Regions from separate parts of the Homo sapiens genome. Here region 2 is linked to region 1. The links are contacts of gene promoters, found by promoter capture Hi-C in human tissues and cell types (Jung and others, 2019). All regions are on one chromosome and are shown on one strand. The core of a region is centred on a gene start or on the middle of the fragment in contact, and the rest is flanking DNA. Distances in the headings are between cores, read along the strand shown. Region 1 holds the start of PIK3CB (phosphatidylinositol-4,5-bisphosphate 3-kinase catalytic subunit beta). Region 2 overlaps CEP70 (centrosomal protein 70).

What was found. Contacts are between HindIII fragments. The study calls those that stand out against the background at their distance.
Region 2: a fragment that was not itself captured here is called in contact with the fragment with the promoter of PIK3CB in region 1 in 1 of the 25 tissues and cell types used here (aorta).

Annotation. Positions count from the first base shown.
Region 1 is chr3:138,833,266-138,836,706 of GRCh38, reverse strand. It overlaps PIK3CB (phosphatidylinositol-4,5-bisphosphate 3-kinase catalytic subunit beta), which reads left to right and starts at 1,779. Exons shown (of 24, transcript NM_006219.3): 1 at 1,779-2,012. RefSeq lists a silencer at 1,543-2,282. The HindIII fragment of the contact is 36,690 bases long and covers 1-3,441 here.
Region 2 is chr3:138,575,767-138,579,207 of GRCh38, reverse strand. The region is part of intron 2 of CEP70 (centrosomal protein 70); the gene reads left to right. Among named protein-coding and RNA genes, the nearest start is that of CEP70, 17 kb to the left of the region's middle. The HindIII fragment of the contact is 5,148 bases long and covers 1-3,441 here.

The DNA.
Region 1 (3,441 bases), core at 530-3,029:
CAAGACTCCGTCTCAAAAAAAGAAAAAAAAAATTAGGCGTGTGTGGTGGCGGGTGCCTGTAATCCCAGCTACTCTGGAGGTTGAGGCAAGAGAACTGCTTGAACCTGGGAGGTGGAGGTTGCCATGAGCTGAGATGGTGCCACTGCACTCCAGCCTGGGCAACAGAATGAGACTGTCTCAAAAAAAAATTTTTTTTTCCTCTTAAGTTTCTGTTTTGTAAATTTTTATATTTTTTAATTCTTCTGGATTTTTTTTTTTTTTCCTAGACAGGGTCTTGCTCTATTTCCCGGGCTGGAGTGCAGTGGTGCTACCGTGCTATCTCGACTCACACCAGCCTCGACTTCCCTCGACTTCCTGGGTTCATATTATCCTCCCACCTCAGTCTCCCAAGTAGCTGGGACAACAGATGCACATCACCACACTCACGTCATTTTTGTCAGTCTCGCCATATTGCCCAGGCTAGGTGTGAACTCCTGGGCTCAAGTGATCTGCCCACCTCGGCCTCCCAAAGTGTTGGTATTACAGCCTCTTCTGGAATTTATTTTTCAATGTTCTTGCTTTAAATCGAAAGTCAATTAAAACCAGGATCATTGGCCGGGCACGGTGGCTCATGTCTGTAATCCCAGCCCTTTGGGAGGCCGAGGCGGGCTGATCACCTGAGGTCGGGAGTTCGAGACCAGCCTGACCAACGTGGAGAAACCCCGTCTCTACTAAAAATACAAAATTAGCCAGGCGTGGTGGCGCATGCCTGTAATCCTCAGGAAGGCTGAGGCAGGAGAATCGCTTGACCGGGGGACGCAGAGTTGCGGTGAGCCAAGATCGCGCCATTGCACTCCAGCCTGGGCAACAGTAGCGAAACTCTCATTCAAAATAAGTAAATAAATAAAAAATAAAAAAACTAGGATCATTTCTCAAATAAACTATTGGTTTGTCACTTAATTGATTTGTCACGTTTGCTTTTTATTATGTTGTACTTCTAGATTTTATCCCTGACTACTCAACTATTTGTCCAGGGTAATATAGGAGCATTACGTTAGAATATACTAGCTTTGGAGTGAGTTAAAATGTTGGTTTTCAGTAAGTAAAATTTAAGTGTCCCACTAGAAAGAGGACTGTGATTTTTCGCGGTTGGGGTCAAAGGTAACAGGAAACAAGGTAGGCAAAAAGGGGTAAAGTTTAAGGCTCTGCAGACAAATGTTAGGTGTTGTTACTGCAAAATTGAACAAAGAACAAGAATCTTGGGCTTGAAAGCCTGGACTTTTCCCTAGAAACAACCATTCACAGTGTAGGGACTGAAGGGCCAGCTGTGAGGCAGCCGAGCTAGCGCCCTATCCTCACAAAGGGAGTGAAAGACGGAGACGGGTATCGGGAAAAAAATAAGTGCTGCGTCCAAGAATTTAGGAGTCAGTCCATGTCGCAGAACAGGGAGAAGGGCTGGGAAGAAAAGGCCAGCAAGGAACCTAGGAAGAGCGGAATCTCTCGGGAGGAGGTTATGGAGGCCGCAGCGGGTGATGGGTCTCTCCTGAAGGCGACTTGCCGGGGATTCCCTATTCCGCAGTCCTCTGGGAGTCGCAAAGAGAGTTAGGAAAGGCCGTGCAGCAGCGTCGCAGCCGGGCTGGCAACGGTAGAGGAATCGGCAGTGAGGCCTCTCCCCACACCCTGCCAGCCCAACTGCCGCCGCCGCCGCCGCCGCCACCGCGGGGCCCGGGATTGGCCCGAGGGCGGCGCAGGGCGGGGCGGGGGCTGCTGGGATGCAGGCCTGAGAGGCTGGCGCGCGCGCACACGGGCGCGGGTTCGGCGGCGGCGCGCGCGTGCTCTGTCGGCCTGTGCGGCGCTGCGGCGGAGCGGGCCATGGCAGTGGGGAGGGGGCGAGTGTAGTGCTGCGCGGGGCAGGCGGGAGGTGATCGAGAGAGGCAGGGATGGGGGCGCCGGAGTGGAGCGGTTGCGGCGGCCTGGGCTGCTGACTGCGCACTTGGAATAGTAGCAGGCGGCGGCGGCGGAACGCCAGGCAGGTGAGTGCGGCGGCCGGGACCCGGATGCGGCGCGGCTGAGGGGCGGCTGGGTCGCGGCGCCGGCTGCGGTGCCCCCGGGCGTGCTGGCGGTGCGTTCTAGCTTGCCGCTACCTGCGGCGCTGGCGACTCTTGTGGTTGCACCGCGCTTCCTGCCAGCTTGGAGGATAACCGCCTACCGGCCGGTGGGGGCGTCTGGCTTGGTTGCGGCCCGCCCTGGGCTCTCCAAGGTGAGTGGCGCCCCCCGGCCCCTGGGCGGCAGAGACGCTGCCGGGCGTCCCGGGTCACTGTCGCTTTGGGTCCCGTTCCTGAGGGGCGTTTCTGTGGAGAGACGGCGTACTCGCGCCCCGCGTCTATGCGGACACCTCCGGAACTTCCCGACCCTCAGGTGCCTTTTTGCGCAGAAGTGTATTTCAGAGGCGTGGACCCAGGGTTATTAGGTTATGGACATGTTTTCGAATCCCAACGCCGCTGCTGACCAGTCCTGGGGCCTTGGGCCAAAATATCCTGATGTGTTAAATGGAAATAATAATACATACACCATAAGGTTGTTGTGAGGTTAGGCATAACTGAACAAGTGCTAAGTAAATGATACCCCTGCTGCAGCATCTCGTGTTAGCTATTGCTAATTCCTGGCTGCTGGCGTGCGTTTGGGGGCACATTTATTTCCGATCTGCTCTGGTGTTGCAGTAACCGATACTGGAGTTGCTTAATATTGGAGCCTGTTAACCTCGCAGTGGCCAAAATAGAATCCTATAGTCCCTTACTAGAATCCTGCAGTCTCTTCCCGCAGGGCTGAATTGGAACCCTGTCTCAGGTACTGAGTGGGAATTACTGCTGAAATGAAACCGAGCAAATTCGGGATTCGCTTAGGATGAAAGATGGTGGGACGTAAACTTGAAGTGCTTTGCTGTTTCATCTCAAGTGACACTTGAACTCTGCCACTTGTTACAGAGTTATAAACACACGAAGAGTATGGAAACAGACTCTTTTTTCTGCATTGCTACATCCAAAGGGAGTGACAAGTGCTTTTGTAAACATCATTGTGGGCAGTGTGACTGTCTGGTGAAGTCATGATAATTAAATGAGTACTTATTTTGAAGCACTGAATGGAAGTTTGGAGATATGATTCGTAATAAAATTGTCTCCAACGAGTCAGAGGTCTCAGCAGTTCATTAATCATTTGGGGATTTTTATGCTACATTGTAAGATTTTATGGTAAAAGCAGAACTGTTTAAGTCATAATAATGTAGCACAGGAAAGGGTGGTCAGATAAGGATCTTAACCCAGTTTCAGAATGCAGGTATGGAAGAAAGTAAAGTCTTTTTTCTGACCAGGTGCGTTGGCTCACGCCTGTAATCCCAGCACTTTGGGAGGCCGAGGCGGGCGGATCAATTGATTCCAGGAGTTCGACACCAGCCCAAGCAACATG
Region 2 (3,441 bases), core at 508-3,007, 260 kb after region 1:
CTGACTACTGGGATGGGTGATTCCCCTCTGGCTAGGACTGGTCTAAATGATCCCTCCAGTGGGTTGAATTCTTCCTGGTGTTGTTGGTACTGCCTTTCAATGCAAAGTTCCACAGTCACTGCACTTTACTTCCCCTAAGTGCACAGATTCTCTCTCTGCGCCACATGGCTGGCCGTTACCGGGGGATTGGGGGAGAATGGTATTGGCAATTTATAAATGTCTTTCCTACCCTCTTCGGTGCCTCTTTCAGCCATATGAAGTTAAAACCAGTTACTGTGATTGCTCACCTGATTTTTGGCTCTTATGAAGGTGCTTTTTTGTAAAGATAGTTCTTAAATTTGGTGTTCCTGTTGGGAGGACAATCGGTGGAGGCTTCTGTTCAGTCATTTTGCTCCGCCTTCAATATTAACTTTTGATGGGGTTAGACCTCAGTGCTTTTCTTTGCTCACTTTTATGTAAAATTAGTTTTTCTGAACTTTTATAATGGTTGAGAGTTCAGGAAAGCTTTTCTAACATCTTGGACTTCTAATATTTTTGTGTAGTGTTTGAAAATATGGCAGTTTGTTTTCTGAGACTTCCTGCTTCTATTTTCTTCCCTATTTTGGTGTGGATCTTCCCTTCTCTCTTATCCCTATCTTGCTCAGTTTTGATTCTATTCCCAAAAGTTTCTTCTCATCATGGGCTCTGTCATGGAAATGTAACATGTCCATTTTGAGTGTTCACAGGGTTCCAGCATCTTCTGTTTTTCTTCTAGGAAAGGGTAAAACCCCTTCTGGTTTCACTTCCTGTTTCATGTTAGTGCCATAGTGAATATTAGCGATACCAATGAATTAGGGAGTTCTCTCATTCTCATAACCATCAGACACTGCCTGTAGCTTTTTTTTCTTCCAGCACAGATGCTGGTACCATGCAGCTTTTATGGCCGTTAGTGGTTTGCCCTCCCCCACTTATATTTTAGTGTTCGTGAGAATAACTTTTCACCAGCTTTTGATATAAATAGTTAGCTCTCTATATCTGCCAGTTTTGTATCCACAGATTCAACCGACTGCAGATTGAAACCTGCAGATAAGGAGGGCCAACGGTACTACACCATTTTATTGAAGGAACTTGAGCATCCATGGATTTTGGTACTTGCAGGTGGTTCTGAAACCAATCCCCATGTATAGGGAAGACCTGCTATTGCTTTTGGGTTTTTAGCTTTGCTCTCTAGTTGCTTCTGTTTTAATGTGGGATGCAGAGATGAAAAAACTAGGCTGTGGCCATGCCGTCTTCCCAGAATTGTTTCTTTATTCTCTTACTTTTAACTGCTTTAATGTTTTTATTTTAAGTGGCTTTTTAGTGTTTTAGAAGTCTTTTTTCCCTTCAACAGCATATAGCTTGATTTTTAAAAATCTAGTTTGACAGTCTCTTTTAACTGGAGCCATTCATGATTAATGTAATTACTGATATGGATTTAAATCTACCATATTGTCAAGTACCATGTGCTTTTCTCTTTGTTTTACCTCTTGTCTGCTTGTGTTTCTCTTCTTTTGGGTTTTTAAAAATTTTTTTATTTTTTCCGAGGCAGAGTCTCTCTCTGTCACCCAGGCTGGAGTGCAGTGGCACCATCTCGTCTCACTGCAACTTCCATCTCCTGGGTTCAAGTGATTCTCCTGTCTCAGCCTCTCAAGTAGCTGGGATTACAGGCATGAGCCACCACACCCGGCTAATTTTTTATATTTTTAGTAAAGATGGGGTTTTGCCATGTTGGCCAGGCTAGTCTTGATCTCCTGACTTCGTGATCTGCCCGCCTTGGCCTCCCAAAGTGCTGGGATTAGAGGCATGAGCCATTGTGCCTGACCCTTGGGTTTATTTATTTATGTATTTATTATACTTTAAGTTCTAGAGTACATGACAGCGTGCAGGTTTGTTACATATGTATACATGTGCCATGTTGGTGTGCTGCACCCATTAACTCGTCGTTTACATTAGGTACTTCTCCTAATGCTATCCCTCCCCCATCCCCCCACCCCACGACAGGCCCTGGTGTGTGATGTTCCCCTTCCTGTGTCCAAGTGTTCTCATTGTTCAGTTCCCACCTATGAGTGAGAACATGCAGTGTTTGGTTTTCTATCCTTGCGATAGTTTGCTCAGAATGATGGTTTCCAGCTTTATCCATGTCCCTACAAAGGACATGAACTCATTCTTTTTAATGGCTGCATAGTATTCCATGGTGTATATGTGCCACATTTTCTTAATCCAGTCTATCATTGATGGACATTTGGGTTGGTTCCAAGATTCTGGTATGTTGTGTCTTTGTTCTCATTGGTTTCAAAGAACATCTTTATTTCTGCCTTCATTTTGTTATTTACACAGTAGTCATTCAGGAGCAGGTTGTTCAGTTTCCATGTAGTTGTGCGGTTTTGAGTGAGTTTCTTAATCCTGAGTTCTAATTTGACTGCACTGTGGTCTGAGAGACAGTTTGTTGTGATTTCTGTTGTTTTACATTTGCTGAGGAGTGCTTTACTTCCAACTAAGTGGTCAATTTTTGAATAAGTGTGATGTGGTGCTGAGAAGAATGTATATTCTATTGATTTGGGGTGGAGAGTTCTGTAGATGTCTATTAGGTCTGCTTGGTGCAGAGCTGAGTTCAAGTCCTGGATATCCTTGTTAACCTTCTGTCTTGTTGATCTGTCTCATATTGACAGTAGGGTGTTAAAGTCTCCTATTATTATTGTGTGGGAGTCTAAGTCTCTTTGTAGGTCTCTAAGGACTTGCTTTATGAATCTGGGTGCTCCTGTATTGGGTGCGTGTATATTTAGGATAGTTAGCTCTTCTTGTTGAATTGATCCCTTTACCATTATGTAATGGTCTTCTTTATCTCTTTTGATCTTTGCTGGTTTAAAGTCTGTTTTATCAGAGACTAGGATTGCAACCCCTGCTTTTTTTTGCTTTCCATTTGCTTGGTAGATCTTCCTCCATCCCTTTATTTTGAGCCTATGTGTGTCTCTGCACATGAGATGGGTCTCCTGAATACAGCACACTGATGGGTCTTGACTCTTTATCCGATTTGCCAGTCTGTGTCTTTTAATTGGGGCATTTAGCCCATTTACATTTAAGGTTAATATTGTTATGTGTGAATCTGATCCTGTCATTATGATGTTAGTTGGTTATTTTGCCCATTAGTTGATGCAATTTCTTCCTAGCATTGATGGTCTTTACAATTTGGCATGTTTTTGCAGTGGCTGGTACTGGTTGTTCCTTTCCATGTTTAGTGCTTCCTTCAGGAGCTCTTGTAAGGCAGGCCTGGTGGTGACACAATCTCTTTGCATTTGCTTGTCTGTAAAGGATTTTATTTCTCCTTCATTTATGAAGCTTAGTTTGGCTGGATATGAAATTCTGGACTGAAAATTCTTTTCTTTAAGAATGTTGAATATTGGCCCCCACTCTCTTCTGGCTTGT